Linked DNA regions of Homo sapiens: region 2 is linked to region 1. The links are contacts of gene promoters, found by promoter capture Hi-C in blood cells and fetal thymus (Javierre and others, 2016). All regions are on one chromosome and are shown on one strand. Each heading gives the region's core, a stretch centred on a gene start or on the middle of the fragment in contact. The rest is flanking DNA. Distances are from core to core; before and after follow the strand shown. Region 1 holds the start of ZNF160 (zinc finger protein 160). Region 2 holds the start of ZNF585B (zinc finger protein 585B).

What was found. The method cuts DNA at HindIII sites, captures the fragments that hold promoters and counts their contacts. A CHiCAGO score of 5 or more calls a contact.
Region 2: a contact is called between a fragment that was not itself captured here and the fragment with the promoter of ZNF160 in region 1, in 1 of 17 cell types (non-activated CD4 T cells). The highest score is 6.9, in non-activated CD4 T cells.

What each region holds. Positions count from the first base shown.
Region 1 is chr19:53,100,364-53,108,101 of GRCh38, forward strand. ZNF160 (zinc finger protein 160) reads right to left here and starts at 3,059. Exons shown (of 6, transcript NM_001322131.2): 1 at 2,902-3,059. It overlaps ZNF415 (zinc finger protein 415), which reads right to left. Exons shown (of 4, transcript NM_018355.4): 4 at 7,516-7,738. RefSeq lists a silencer at 3,102-3,511. The HindIII fragment of the contact is 3,069 bases long and covers 1,233-4,301 here.
Region 2 is chr19:37,208,113-37,215,850 of GRCh38, forward strand. ZNF585B (zinc finger protein 585B) reads right to left here and starts at 2,424. Exons shown (of 5, transcript NM_152279.4): 1 at 2,329-2,424. The HindIII fragment of the contact is 8,273 bases long and covers 950-7,738 here.

The DNA of each region.
Region 1 (7,738 bases), core at 1,809-4,308:
ACTTTGGGAGGCTGAGGCGGGTGGATCACGAGGTCAGGAGATCGAGACCATCCTGGCTACCATGGTGAAACCCCATCTCTACTAAAAATACAAAAAATTTGCCGGGCGTGGTGGCGGCTGCCTGTAGTCCCAACTACTTGGGAGGCTGAGGCAGGAGAATGGCATGAACCTGGGAGGCGGAGCTTGCAGTGAGCCGAGATTGCACCACTGCACTCCAGCCTGGGCGACAGAGCGAGACTCCGTCTCCAAAAAAAAATTAGTTAATAGGTTCTTATGTTAACGTTAAAAAAAAAAGCGTCACTGATATCTTTACCAAATACACATTCATACCATCTAAAATTCCTACTGATGGCCGGCGTAGTGGCTCACGCCTGTAATCCCAGCACTTTGGGAGGGATCACTTGAGATCAGGAGTTTAAGACCAGCCTGGCCAATATAATGAAACCCTATCTCTACTAAAAATACGAAAATTAGCCAGGTGTGGTGGCAGGTGCCTGTAATCCCAGCTACTTGGGAGGCTGAGGCAGGAGAATCACTTGAACCTGGGAGGTGGAGGTGGCAGTGAGCCAAGGTCACACGAGTGCACTACAGCCTGGGCATCAGAGTACCTCCATCTCAAAAAAAATAAATAAGGGCCAGGAGCGGTGGCTCACGCCTGTAATCCCAGAAATTTGGGAGGCCGAGACAGGTGGATCACTTGAGGTCAGGAGGTCAAGACCAGCCTAGCCAACATGGTGAAATCCCGTCTCTACTAAAAATACAAAAAATTAGCCAGGCGTGGTGGCACACACCTGTAATCCCAGCTAGTTGGAAGGCTGAGGCAGGAGAATCACTTGAACCCAGGAGACAGAGGTTGCAGTGAGCTGAGATCACGCCACTGCCCTCCAGCCTGGGTGAAAGAGCGAGACTGTCTCAAAAATAAATAAATAAATAAATAAAAATGAATAAAGTTACCTACTGACTACCAAAGAGTATTTCCAATATATGATAAAGAGTAGAAAGCATGCAGACCTCAATCTGAACTCAACACAATTAACTTCAAATGGAAACCATTTTGAAAATATATATATTATTTAATATGTATATGATATATTAACTATATATGGAATTCTACAAAGGGAAAAAATTGAAAATATATCACATTTAGAAAAGAATGACATGAGCCAATACAGGATTCCACAAAAGCTTACTTCAGCAATAATTACATATAGAAAAAGAGACTGAATTAGATAAGCTTCATCTCAACCTTCAGCATGAACTGTGAGATGAAAGGTAAATACAAGGCACCAGGCAGTGACACAGCCAGTCACTCCTTGCCTCTCTTCACTGCCCCCACCCTACCCCATCCTCGGAAACAGGAAGAGGGAGACCCATAACTGAATGAGGCAAGTCACTGCCCAATGGCTAAACAGCATGGGCAAATGAAAGCTAGCCTCTTATGCCATAATTGTAAAATGCACAAGCCTTTTACACAGAGCTTTGTAATTCTCATCCTTATATGTAGAATTTAAACAATTAGATTACAATTTAAATGTAACACATTATAAATAGAGAAATCAAATTGTCATATCCAATCTCAACTCACCTCTCACCTGGCCCCAGGGCGCCCCTCTTTCTTTATAACTATGTGTTCCTCTCCCCCATTTTGTGCCTCTCACTTTCACCTTGTCTCTCCAGCCTTTTTCCCCTTTTATCTTCCCCCTAGGATTCTGACGATGTTGTGCCTCTTTTTTCTTCTGCTGTTTCTCCCTTCTTTGTTTTTTCCCCTTATATCTGTTCTACTCCATTCTTCCAATTTGTTTCACCTCTTGTGGCGTTTTCTTTCCAATCTTTTCATCGTCCCAATCTCCATCTATTTCTGCCTCTTTCTTACCCCATCTCCGCGCCTCCTCTGCTCTCCCTGTTAAATCCCCTCTTCCCTGTTACACCCGCTTATCCCCACTCTCTGGCACTCCCAGATCCCAGGCCTCCCTGTGTTGTGGTGCTCCCTCTGCTCGCCTTGTCACCAGCTGTCCCCTCCAGCTGTCCCAGCACCACGCAGCTCTGTCTGCCCTCGGCCAAATCCTTTCTCCTCTCCCCCACTCTCTGTCTGAGGAGGCTCCTTCTTTGCTGTCCCTCTCCTTATCTTGTTGTCCTGCATCTCGGGACATCGAGCTTTTCTCTACATTTCGCCAATTGCTTTTCTGCCCCTGCTACTTTCTTGACTGCTTCTTTCACTCTGTCGCTGCAAATCTCTCACCCATCCTCCACTTTGCCATCTGTTTATGGGTCTCCCTCATTTTTCTTTTCTCTTTCTTGGTTTTTCCATCTCCTCTCAGTGGCTCTTTGTCTCTCTTTCTCCTGATTCCCTTGGGCCACACATTCACTGGAGGGTTTGTAGTAAGATGTCTGCATGTTGGAGGAGTACATTTTCCAGGGGGTGGAGCTGGGCAGGCAAAAACACCGGGTGTCACAGGACGGGCCCCGGGCACCTCCCCAACGAGGGCTCAAGGGAAGCGGTGACTGCGAAGGGGAGGCCTGGGGAGCAGCAGGGCCCGGCACGAGGAGGAGGGAGGTGGGGGGCGACGGCGCCTTAGGACAGGGGTGGGATGTGCAGGATCCCAGGACCAGGCGGAGGCGCGGCCTCCCCGGGACTGGGTCGGCGGCGCTGCGCTCCAGGGGCCGACGAGAGCGAGGCTGGGAGGCGCCCAGGGCAGGCGGTGAGGACTTTAAGCGATGCGGGGCGGGAGGAGGAGTCAGTAAAGGATTTTAAGCAGGAAAATCCTGCTTAAACGTTTAAAAAACCGGGAAAGGCCGTGTTTACTTGGCCCAAGGCAGAAAGACCGGGGGCAGGGACCAGCCTCAGGGCGACTTTAACCCAAAAGGAAGCGTCTCCGGGCCCACACAGCAAGGCCTATTTACCTGAGGTGGAGGGTGCGGTGCGGAGATTTTAAGTCCGTAGCGACCCCCGGGCATCGGGTGTGCGAATGGGGGACGGCGAGGCGCAGGTTGAGTCTACACAGAGGAACACTCATACGCCATGGTGTGATGCTTGCTCCGCACGATCCACTTCCGGGTCTGTGGGCAACTGCGCGAAGGAAAGCGACCGAGCGGCCCGGGGCGGGGTCCGAGATGGGCGGAACCGGAAAAGGGCGGGGCGTTGAGAGAGCCGGGCTGAAGCAGGGGCCGCCAGGCAGGGACCCCAGGGAAGGAACGGGGAGGAGCCACCGGGGAGGGGTGGGGAGTGACCAAGTGGAGGGACCCGGGGGCGGGCCGGGGAGGAGCCGCCGGGGAAGGGCGGGGAGGAACCGCGGGAAGGGACCGCGGGGGAGGAAGGCGAAGGGACCGCGGGGGAGGGAGGCAGAGGGACCGCCAGGAAGGGACCCGGGGGAGAGGCGGGGCTGGACGGGACACGTTAGGGTCTGCGATTTCGTGTGATGCCCACAGCCCAGCGCCCAGAGCCATCTGTAGTGTCTTGTGGAACGGCGTAGATGTTTCAAACGGTTTCAAGTTAAAAGCACAGTTGTGTAGGTTATTTTGGAAACCAAACTGCTTTCCTCTTAGAATGGAGGCGGTTTATGTTGAAAGCATTTTTTGCTAGCGCGTTTACCCAGTAATGTTATTGACGCTGAAGCAGCCCAGGAGTCTGGGAACATGGGTTGACACGGAGCGGTGATGGCATGCTGGAAAAGTTTCTGCGATTAAAATTAAGTAATTTAAAAGCCCTGAAATTAGCAGTAACTTTTAAAAAATAGATATAAATTGCATTGTCCTTTTTTATACTTACTATTCTATTCCGTGCGAGATGACAACCTCAAACGCCTATACTTTTTTTTTTTTTTTTTGAGCCGGAGTCACGCTCTGTCGTCCAGGCTGGGGTGCAGTGGCATGATCTCTGCTCACTGCAACCTCGGCCTCCCGGGTTCAAGCAATGCTCCTGCCTCAGCCTCCCGAGTAGCTAGGATTACAGGCGCCCGCCACCACGTTCTTTAGCGGAGATGAAGTTTCACCATGTTGCCTAGGCTGGTCTCGAATTCCTGACCTCAAGTGATCCACCCGCCTCAGCCTCCCAAAGTGCTGGGATTACAGGCGTGAGCCACCATACCTGGCCCCAGGAACTACTTTCACCTACTGAATATATATTAAGTCCTTTGCCACAAAAAGATAATATACATAATTTATCTCAGAACAATTAAGATATTTACCACTGTAAATGACAAATTCAGACTTAGAGAAGGAAGATTTTATTCAAAAGGACTATTGCAATAGAGAGAATGTTCCAATCACAAGATCTGAAAATGTCCAAGAGACACAAACTAAAAAGCTTTTTTTTCTTTTTTTCATATATGGAGGAGTAAACAAGGCTAGAAAGCACAAGCACAAGTTATGAGGCTGTGGATGAGCACTTGGCATGACTACAGTTATTCAGGGAAAGTTTGTTATGTTATGTTATGTTATGTTAAAAATGTTACATATTTCTTGGAGAGAGTCTTGCTCTGTCACCCAGGCTGGAGTGCAGTGGCGTCATCTCTGCTCACTGCAACTTTTCATCTACCAGGCTCAGGCAATCCTCCCACCTCAATCTCCCCAGTAGCTGGGACTACAAGCACACGTCACCATGCCTAGTTAATTTTTGTACTTTTTGTAGAGACGGGGTTTCGCCATGTTGCTCAGGCTAGACTCGAACTCCTGAGCTCGAGGGATCCCCCACACCTTGGCCTCCCAAAGTGCTGGGATCACAGGCGTGAGCCACCGTGCCCGGTCTATTTATTTTTTGAGAGAGCATCTTGCTCTGTTGCCCAGGCTAGAGTGCAGTGTCAAGACCATAGCTCACTGCAGCCTTCAACTCTGGAATCAAGTGATCCTCCTACCTCAGTCTCCCAAGTGGCTGGGACTACGGGTTTGCACCGCCACACTCCACTAATTTTTTTACTTTTTGCAAAGGCGGATTCTCACTATGTTGCCCAGGCAAGTCTTGAACTTCTAGCCTCAACTGATCCTCCCGCCCTGATCTCCCAAAGTGTTGGGATTACAAATGTGAGCCTGGCTCATCATGGAATTCAAGACCAGTTTGGGCAACATAGCAAGACTCCCATCTCTACAGAAAATTTTTAAAAATTAGCTGGGCATGGTGGCACACACCTGTAGTCCCAGCTACTCAGGAAGATTGCTTGAGCCCAGGAGTTCGAGGCAGCAGTTAGCTATGATCCTGACACTGCACTCCAGTCTGGGCAACAGAGTGAGAACCTGTCTTTCAAAAAAAAAAAAAAAAGCCTACTCTTGGGAGGGGCTGTTGGCTGTTGTTAAGGAAAAGTTGTTCCAAATTACACTGACAAAGAATGGTTCAGAGGGTTGGGCATGGTGGCTCACGCCTGCAATCCTTGCACTTTGGGAAGCTGAGGCGAGTGGATCACATGAGGTCAGGAGTTCGAGACCAGCCTGGTCAACATGGCGAAAACCCATCTCTACTAAAAACAAAAATTAGCCAGGCGTGGTGGTGCACACCTGTAATCCCAGCTACTCAGGAGGCTGAGGCAGGAGAATTGCTTAAACCAGGGAGGCAGAGGCTGCAGTGAGCCGAGATTGTGCCACTGCACTTCAGCTTGGGTGACAGAGCGAGACTCTGTCTCAAATAAATAAATAAGGCTGGGCGCGGTGGTTCACACCTGTAATCCCAGCACTTTGGGAGGTTGAGGCGGGTGGATCACGAGGTCAAGAGATCGAGACCATCCTGACCAACATGGTGAAACCCCGTTTCTACTAAAAACACAAAAATTAGCTGGGTGTGGTGGCCTGTCCCTGTAGTCCCAGCTACTCAGGAGGCTGAGGCAGAATTGCTTGAAACCAGGAGGCAGAGGTTGCAGTGAGATGAGATCGTACCACTGCACTCCAGCCTGGCGACACAGTGAGACTCCATCCTATAAATGAATGAATGAATGAATTAATAAAGTGAATTAGTTATCAAAAACCTCAAAAAAGAAAAGTCTGTAGCTGGGCATGGTGGCTCACACCTGCAATCCCAGCATTTTGGGGGACCGAGGCAGGCAGATCCCTTGAGATCACGAGTTTGAGACCAGCCTGGCCAACATGGTGAAACGTTCTCTACTAAAAATACACAAATTAGCCGAACGTGGTGGTGGGCGCCTGTAATCCCAGCTACCTTGGAGGCTGAGGCAGGAGAATCGCTTGAACCCGGGAGGCGGAGGCTGCAGTGAGCTATTGTGCCACTGCACTCCAGCCTGGGCAACAGAGCAAGACTCCGTCTCGAAAAATAAAAATTAAAAAAAAGAGTGATACAGCTTTCATGGTGTAAAATAACTTTCTTGGGATTTTCATTATATTCACATAAGTATCCTGAGGCAGGGTATGGGCGGGGAGAACAACTCAAGTGCACTCTGTAAGTGTATGTTCCCAACACTCTATTTAATTCCAAGAAAAAAAAAAATGGTTCTATCTTTCAGCCTTAAGAGTCTAATGGTGTGTTGTTATTGTCTGTTACAAAGTAACCTACTGAGGTGGGATAAAACTATGTTGGCAGAGAGAACATGATGCATTCATAGTTATGCAAAAATCAGATTAATTAGCACGAGATCTATGATACATTCTGAATAAAACAGTAGCAAAATGTAATACCAGCAGTAAATGTGAATCCTAATCAATAACATGCTATTGTGGTTCATCTCTGAGGTTGTGGTTTCTATTGTGGTTTCAATCTTGGCTATATAACAGCGATGGCCATTCCATGCAGAAGGTGGCCACCGTTTTCCCCTGAATTATTTCCACCATGTAATCAGTCACTAATAACCCATTACACTCCTCCCACAAATCCCAGTGTCTAAGGTCTTGATCTGCTCTGATTTTTTTTGAGGCACAGTCTCTCTCAGTCACCTAGGCTGGAGTGCAGTGGTGCAATCTCGGCTCACTGCAACCTCCGCCTCCTGGGTTCAAGCGATTCTCCTGCCTCAGTCTCCCAAGTAGCTGGGATTACAGGCGCCCACCACCACGCCCGGCTAATTTTTGTATTTTTAGTAGAGACGGGGTTTCACCATCTTGGCCAGGCTGGTCTTGAACTCCTGACCTCATGATCCACCCACCTCAGCCACCCAAAGTGCTGGGATTACAGGTGTGAGCCACTGCGCCCGGTCGTGGTCTGCTCTGTTTCATGGTCAGGTTGCAGGTCATCTCTTTCCTGTAACCCAAAGTGCCGTCTATCAGGAGAACACCCTAAACACAATAAGGATGATGATCAACACCATCATTTTGCATTATTCTCTGCCTGCCCCCATGCTTGGTAATTTGCCAAGGCAGAGTCCTTATTCTTCAAAGAATCTGAATAGAAATGATCCTCATCTAATGCAGTGAGCCCTTCCATCTTACTGATTCTTTCCCAGACATTGCCATGAAAGGCAGGTAAGGAGGCCTATCAACACATTTCAAGGTTTTGGTTGAAAGTCATAAATCCTAAAGTATAAAGTAGTAGCCTTGCAAGACACCTAAAATAAATAAATAAAATATTTTAAAATCTGAGACAACCAGTGACTTCAAACATCCTGCAACCTTTAATATATATCATGTTGTGTGAGTTTTAACATATTTGGGCTTGCATTTGTTCTACAATGTGTAATATGAAAAGTTTATCAGCACAACTAGACTGAATTATTCCTCACATAAATCCTTGGATGTGTTACAGTTTTGATCCTTGGTTAATAGCTTCAACATGCACAAAATATACAAAGATGTTTACACATTTTGATGTCTA
Region 2 (7,738 bases), core at 3,836-6,335, about 16 Mb before region 1:
CAGGCATGCGACACCACGCCCAGCTAATTTTTGTATTTTTAGTAGAGTCAGGGTTTCACCATGTTGGCTGGGATGATCTTGATCTCCTGACCTTGTGATCCGCCTGCCTCGGCCTCCCAAAGTGCTGGGATTACAGGCGTGAGCCACCGCGCCCAACCCACCTCACACTATTAAGTAGACAAATTCCAGGAGCACTAAACATTTAAATACATGCATTTTTTAAAACCCCTAAGGATATTAAAATAATTTTCAGACTATATATTTGTATAGCATTGTGGTGGGGTGATAAGGATCTTATTACACATGACAGGAAACCCAGAAGCTATAACAGAAAAAAACAGGTATTTCTGATTATGTTTCCTAATTATATGTTTAAATAAACCATAAAATTCGACATAAAGATATATAAGAAATTTTTTCAATATGTGATGATAGCTTGCTTGTAATGTTAACTCTAAGCAATCACTAAGCAAAAAAGGCCAAAAAAAAAAATAAAAGAAACTGGAAAAGGTATGAAAATTCAGAGAAAAGGAAGCAAATGGCAATTAACAAAAAGATACCAACTTAACTAAAAGAAAAACGCGTCAGAACAATTAGAGAGAAATTTTCCTTAGAATCATAAAAGCTTTAAAAAAGTAACAGACCAAGCACAATGGATCACTTGAGGCCAGGAGTTCGAGACCAGCCTGGCCAACATGGCGAAACGCTGTCTCTACTAAAAATACAAAAATTAGCCAGGCGTGGTGGCGGGCACTTGAAATCCCAGCTACTCAAGAGGCTAAGACAGGAGAATAGCTTGAACCAGGGAAGCAGAGGTTGCAATGAGCGGAGATCACGGCATTGCACTCCAGCCTGGGCGACAGAGCAAGACTCTGTCTCAAAAAAAAAAGTGACAACATCCACTGTTGGAAAGCATTTAGGCAAATTGCTTTTATAAATTATTGGTTGAAGCTTGAATTGCTATAATGTCTTTTGAGCTATTTAGTCATATCTATTTTTTTATTTTTTTGAGATGGAGTTTCACTCTTGTCGCCCCGGCTGGAGTGCAATGGCATGATCTTGGCTCACTGCGACCTCCGCCTCCCAGGTTCAAGTGATTCTTCTGCCTCAGCCTCCCGAGTAGTTGGGATTACAGGCACCCACCACCACACCCAGCTAATTTTTGTATTTTTGGTTAGAGGTGTTTTTCCATGTTGGCCAGGCTGGTCTCGAACTCCTGACCTCAGGTGATCTGCCCACCTTGGCCACCCAAAGTGCTGGGATTACAGGCGTGAGCCACCAGGCCCGGTCAGTCATATCTAGCAATACACTCAACTGATCCCAATAATATAGTTTTAAATATATAAAGCAGAAACAGAAGAAAGGACAGGTGGACAAATAACTTTTCCAATGTGAGTAGTTTACCTTCCTCAACAAAATAATCTGTGAGGAGATACATAATATATATAACATATGATTAATATCCATAACAATACAAATTAGAGAACATATTACACTCTTTTCATGTAATAGATGTGACATTTATGAAAAATGAGGAAGAACTAGGCCATAAAGCAATTGTTCAACTGAAGCATCACCTACAGACACTAATTGAAACATAAAGTGCACTTCTTTTTTTTTTTTTTTTTTTTGGTGCTCTGTGGCCCAGGCTGGAGTGCAGTGGCAAGATCTGGGCTCACCGCAAGCTCCGCCTCCCGGGTTCACGCCATTCTCCTGCCTCAGCCTCCAGAGTAGCTGGGACTACAGGCGCCCGCCACCACGCCCGGCTAATTTTTTGTATTTTTAGTAGAGACGGGGTTTCACCGTGTTAGCAAGGATGGTCTCGATCTCCTGACCTCATGATCCGCCCGCCTGGGTCTCCCAAAGTGCTGGGATTACAGGTTTGAGCCACCGCGCCCGGCCATAAAGTGCACTTCTAAACAGCTCATGGGTCAAAGAAAAACAATTACTGAAAAAAATTTTTAAACACTTAGATTTGAACAATACGAAACTGCTACACATCAAAACTTGTTAATCTTTATATTACAGGCTGAAATGGAAAGAACTGAACTTTCAACTCAGGTCAGAAAGCAAGCTGATCACAGTCCTCACCGACCACCATAGCTGACCCTACAGGCCCTCAGTCACTGACCACAGACTCCCGTCACTGACCCCCAAACCCCAATCACTCATCCCAAAGAGCCCCATCAATGACCCGAGAAATCCCTGTCACAGACAACCATCAACGGACGTCACAGACCCCCATCACCATGCCCCGAAACCACCATCACTAATTCCACAGACAACTCCTCTATTACTGACTTCACAGAATCCCTAATTGCAACCAACCAAAATCGTCACAGAGACCTCTCGGCATTAAAACGTGAAAATAGTCCTGACGCCAGCGGCGAAATAGCCTTCGGGGACCACTTCCACTTCCGGTCCGACTTCTAGCACCTCCCCTTATGGACTGTTGATATTGCGCATGCTCTAAATTAACTTGGAAGCCAATTTCAGCCCACAGTCAACAGGGAGCACACACATATTTAGAGACATCGTGCAGTTTCCGTAATCGGCGCTCACGGGCAGAGAATATAACCGCGCCCTTATGGTGTTTATTTGTGTGGGTCGCCATCTTTGATGCGTATCGATTCCGTACAGTGGAGGAGTCCGCCTCCTGGAGTGTTGACTAGAGTAAGGCAAGGATTTTCACATAGAATGCAAGACTGTAACCAGTGTGACCACGCTTGTACCCAAGAAGAAGTTCCTGAAGATAGGATCTGGAGCTTTATGTTTTTTTTTGTTTGTTTGTTTGTTTTGAGACAGAGTCTTGTTCTGTCGCCCAGGCTGGAGTGCAGTGGCGCCATCTCGGCTCACTGCAACCTCTGCCTCCCAGGTTCAAGCGATTCTCCTGCCTCTGCCTCCCGAGTAGCTGGGATTACAGGCAAGCGCCACCACACCCAGCTAATTTTTTTGTATTTTTAGTAGAGACGCAGTTTCACGTCTCTACTGGTCACGCTGGTCTCGAACTCCTGACCTCAAATGATCCACCCACCACGGCCTCCCAAAATGCTGGGGTTATAGGCGTGAGCCACCGCCTCCGGCTGTTATATTTACAATACCTAAGTTACCCCTTGGTTACGGCACACTGCAGAAAACAACGATTTACTAGGAGAAACCATGGGGGAACTAGGAAGCCAGGGATCCTGAGAGAAATAAGGGAGATAAGAGGAGGCATCAGGATGGTACAATCTATTTTTTGGAGACACCACTCAGGAGAAGGGTGGACTGGGATCTGAGTTCACTCCTGGGTGAAACCACTAGGCAAGACGGAGTTATGTCACAGTAGGTAGTATCCTGCAGGAAGGGAGGTACAATTTTTAGTAGTTGAAAACACATTAGGAAATAGGGTAGAAGTTGGGTTAGTACAATCCTCTTCTAGGAGATACCATGGAAGAGGGGTTAGAAGTCTAAGCATCCCCTTTGAAACGGCTGGTAGAAGGCTTTGGGAGGTATAGATATTTTAATCCCCTTAATCTCCATCAGCATCCACCCTAGCTAACTCAAGCACAACTATAGTAAGCAGCAACAATAAAAATAATAATAGTCTTGGCTGGTCGTGGTGGTTCATGCCTGTAATCCCAGCACTTTGGGAGGCCGAGGCGGGCACATCACCTTAGGTGGGGAGTTCGAGACCAGCCTGACCAACATGGTGAAACCCCGTCTCTACTAAAAATACAAAATTAGCTGGGCATGGTGGTGTGTGCCTATAATCCCAGCTACTTGGGGGGCTGAGGCAGGAGAATCGCTTGAACCCAGAAGGCGGAGGTTGCAGTGAGCCGAGATCATGCCATTGCACTCTAGCCTGGGCAACAAGAGCAAAACTCCATCTCAAAACAACAACAACAACAACAACAGCACAATAATAATAATAACAGTCTTTAATATGGCCAACGTGTGACTAAAAACACCTGAAGAAAATCTTGCTTTTTTTTTTTTTTTTTTTTTGAGACAGAGTCTCACTCTGTCACCCAGGCTGGAGTGTAATGGCACAATCATGGCTCACTGCAACCTTGACTGCCCAGGCTCAAAAGCAATCCCAGCTGGGCGCAGTGGCTCATGCCTGTAATCCCAACGCATTGGGAGGCCGAGGCAGGTGGATCATGAGGTCAAGAGATCGAGACCATCCTAGCCAACATGGTGAAACCCTGCCTCTACTAAAAATACAAAAATTAGCTGGGTGTGGTGGCGTGCGCCTGTAGTACCAGCTACTTGGGAGGCTGAGGCAGTAGAATCACTTGAACCCAGGAGGTGGAGGTTGCAGGGAGCTGAGATGGAGCCACTGCACTCCAGCCTGGTGACAGAGTGAGACTCCAAAGAACTGGGATTACAGGCGTGAGCCTCCGAGCCCGGCCAGGGAGTTTTGTTTTTTTTTTTTTTTGATTGCAAAGAGATGTTGAATTTTGTCAAATGCTTTTTCTGTTTCTATTGAGATGACCATATGATTTTTGTCCTTCATTCTGTCAATGTGATGTATTGCACATACTAATCTGCATATGTTAAACCATCTTTGCTTCCCTGGGATAAGTCCCACTTGATCATTGTGTATCTTTTTGACATGCTATTGGATTTGGTTTGCTAGTATTTTGTTGAGGATTTTTGCATCTGCGTTTATCAGGGATCTTGGCCTGTAGTTTTCTCTTTCTTCTGTCTTTGCCTGGTTTTAGTATGAGGATGGTGCTGGCCTCACAGAATCAGTTTGGAAAAATTCCTTCCCCTTCAATTTTTTTGGATTAGTTTGAGAAATATTAGAATTTGTTCTCCCTTAAAAGTTTGGTAGAATCAAATCCAAGAAGGGGATGATGAGAACCTCTAATTTTCAGGCAAACTGGGCAGTTGTTGGTAATCAGGTGACCTAGTAGTTGTCATTGGCATCTGAAGAGGTGGGCAGTCTTGTGGGACTGAGCAATTAAACTGTAAGGTCTGTGCTAACTCAGGTTAGTGTCAGAATTGAATTCAATTGTAGGACACCCATGTAGGGAGGGCTGGAGAAGTGGTGTCAGAAAAACTCCACATATTTTGTGTTAAAAACGAAACATTCTGGAAGTATTGAGTGTTGTGAGAGTATATATTTTTAAAACCAGTTTGTTTTTCCTATGCAACTGTATAAAAAGACATATCAAGTCTCACTCCCCCCACCACCCCAATCACTATAGGTTATCACTATAGGTATTGTTTCTGGTTCACGTTTCCAATACTTCTTTTTTCCTATCTTTTCTTTTTTTAGTGAATATAAACAAATGCTTATATCTAATCTAATTTCCTTTTCTTTTTTAGACGAACTATATGTTACACTGTTCTATACTTTCCATTTTTTATATATTCCAGAGTTAATGTCATTCCGTAGAGAGCTTCGTTTTTTTTTTTTTCTGCTGTGTGTGTATGGGCTGCATAAAACTTTATGATGTGACTGTGGTGATTTGAGCTGCTACCTTTATCAAATACTAAGCATCTATGTGGATGTTAATTTCTTTTTTTTTTGAGATGAAGTCTCACTCTGTCACCAGGCTGTAGCGCAGTGGCACAATCTCAGCTCACTGCAACCTCTGCCTCCCAGGTTCAAGCGATTCTCCTGCCTCAGCCTCCCGAGTAGCTGGGACTACAGGCGCGTGCCACCACACCCAGCTAATTTTTGTATTTTTAGTAGAGACGGGGTTTCATCATGTTGGCCAGGATGGTCTCGATCTCTTCACCTCATGATTCACCCGCCTTGGCCTCCCAAAGTGCTGGGATTACAGGTGTGAGCCACCGTGCCTGGCCGGGATGTTAATTTCTTTCTTTCTTTCTTTTTTTGAGACGGAGTTTTGCTCCTGTTGCCCAGGCTGGAGTGCAGTGGCTTAATCTCGGCTCACTGCAACCTCCGCCTCCCAGGTTCAAGCAATTCTCCTGCCTCAGCCTCCTGAGTAGCTGGGATGACAGGCGCATGCCACCATGCCCAGCTTATTTTTTGTATTTTTAGTAGAGATGGGGTTTCATCATGTTGGCCAGGCTGGTCTCGAACTCCTGACCTCAGGTGATCCACCCACCTCGGCCACCCAAAGGGCTGGGCGTGAGCCACCGCGCCCGGCCATGGATGTTTATTTCTCCATTTCCCATCCTCCTCCCTTTGTCTGTCTCTCTAACCACACACAAATAGCACACTGTTTTAAGTATAGAGGCTTTATCATGTACCTCATATAACTTCATGTAACTTCAATTCTACTTTCTGTCTCTATGAATACACCTATTCTAGGCACCTCATATAAGTGGATTCATACAATATTTGTCCTTTTGGTCTGGCTTATCTCACTCCGCATAGTGTTGAAAAAGAAAATAAATGGCTTTTATCTGAGGAATGCAAGCCTTCTTTATGTGATCAAGCCCAGAGAGGGGTTGGGATGACACAGCTGTTGTGGTGGCTCATGCCTGTAATCCCAGCACTTTGGGAGGCCTCGGTGGGAGGATTACTTGAGGCCCGGAGTTTGAAACTAGACTGGGCAACATAACTAAACCCTCTCTCTATAAATTTTTTTTTCAATTAGCCAGGTGTGGTGGTGTACACCAATAGTCCCAGCTACTCAGAAGGCCTAGGCGGAAGGATGCTTAAGTCCAGGAGTATGAGGCTGCAGTGAGCTGTGATCATACCTCTGCATTCCAGCCTGGGAGACAGAGCAAGACCTTGTCTCTAAAAAAAAAAAAAAAAAAAAAAAATGCTGGGTGCAGTGGCTCACACCTGTAATCCCAGTACTTCGGGAGGCCAAGGCAGGCAGATCACTTGAGGTCAGGAGTTCAAGACCAGCCTAGCCAACATGATGAAACCCTGTCTCTACTTAAAAAAAAAAAAAAAAAAAAAAAAAAAAAGGAAAGAAAAATTAGCCGGGCATGGTGGTGGGTGCCTGTAATCTCAGCTACTAGGGAGGCTGAGGCAGGAGAATCACTTGAACCCAGGAGGCAGACGTTGCAGTGAGCCGAGATCCCACCACTGCACTCCAGCTTGGGCAACAGAGGGAGACCCCATCTCAAAATAAATAAATAAAAATTAAAAAAATAAATTAAAAATTAAAAAAAAGAAATGAGTTTTTTCTGCTCTAAAATCAAAAGTTTGCAAGCTGCATTCCTTTCTGGAGGCTCTGGAGAATTTGTTTTTTTTCATTTTCCAAGTTGGAGAAGCTGCCTGCATTCCTCAGCTCATGGGCTCCTTTCATCTTTACACCCAATAATGGCTGGTCGTGTGTTTCTCACAGCACACAATTCCAACACTGACTTTATGCCTTCTTCCTCATTTCAGACCCCATGTGATTACATTGGGTCTAACTGGACAATCCAGTATAATTCCCCTATGTTAAGGTCAGCCGATTAGCAACTTTAATTCTACCTGTTAATTTAATTCCACTTGCCATGTAACATAGCATATTCACAAGTCCCAGGAACTAGCATGTGGGTATTTTGGGGGGAACATTATCCTGCCTACTTTAGATGTTGAGGTCATTCAAGAGGAAAATGATAGTTTTGTTAACATGTGATGTTAGAACAACTGAATTTCCATCTGGAAAATAATAACTTTGAACATTACCTCACATACACAAAAACTAACTTCAAGTGGATGATAGACCAAAAATAAAAACTAAAACTATACAACCTTTAGAATAAAACATAGGAGAAATTCTTCACAACACTAGAGGAGTCAAAGATTGTTAGAAAGACCAGAAAGCATGAAGCA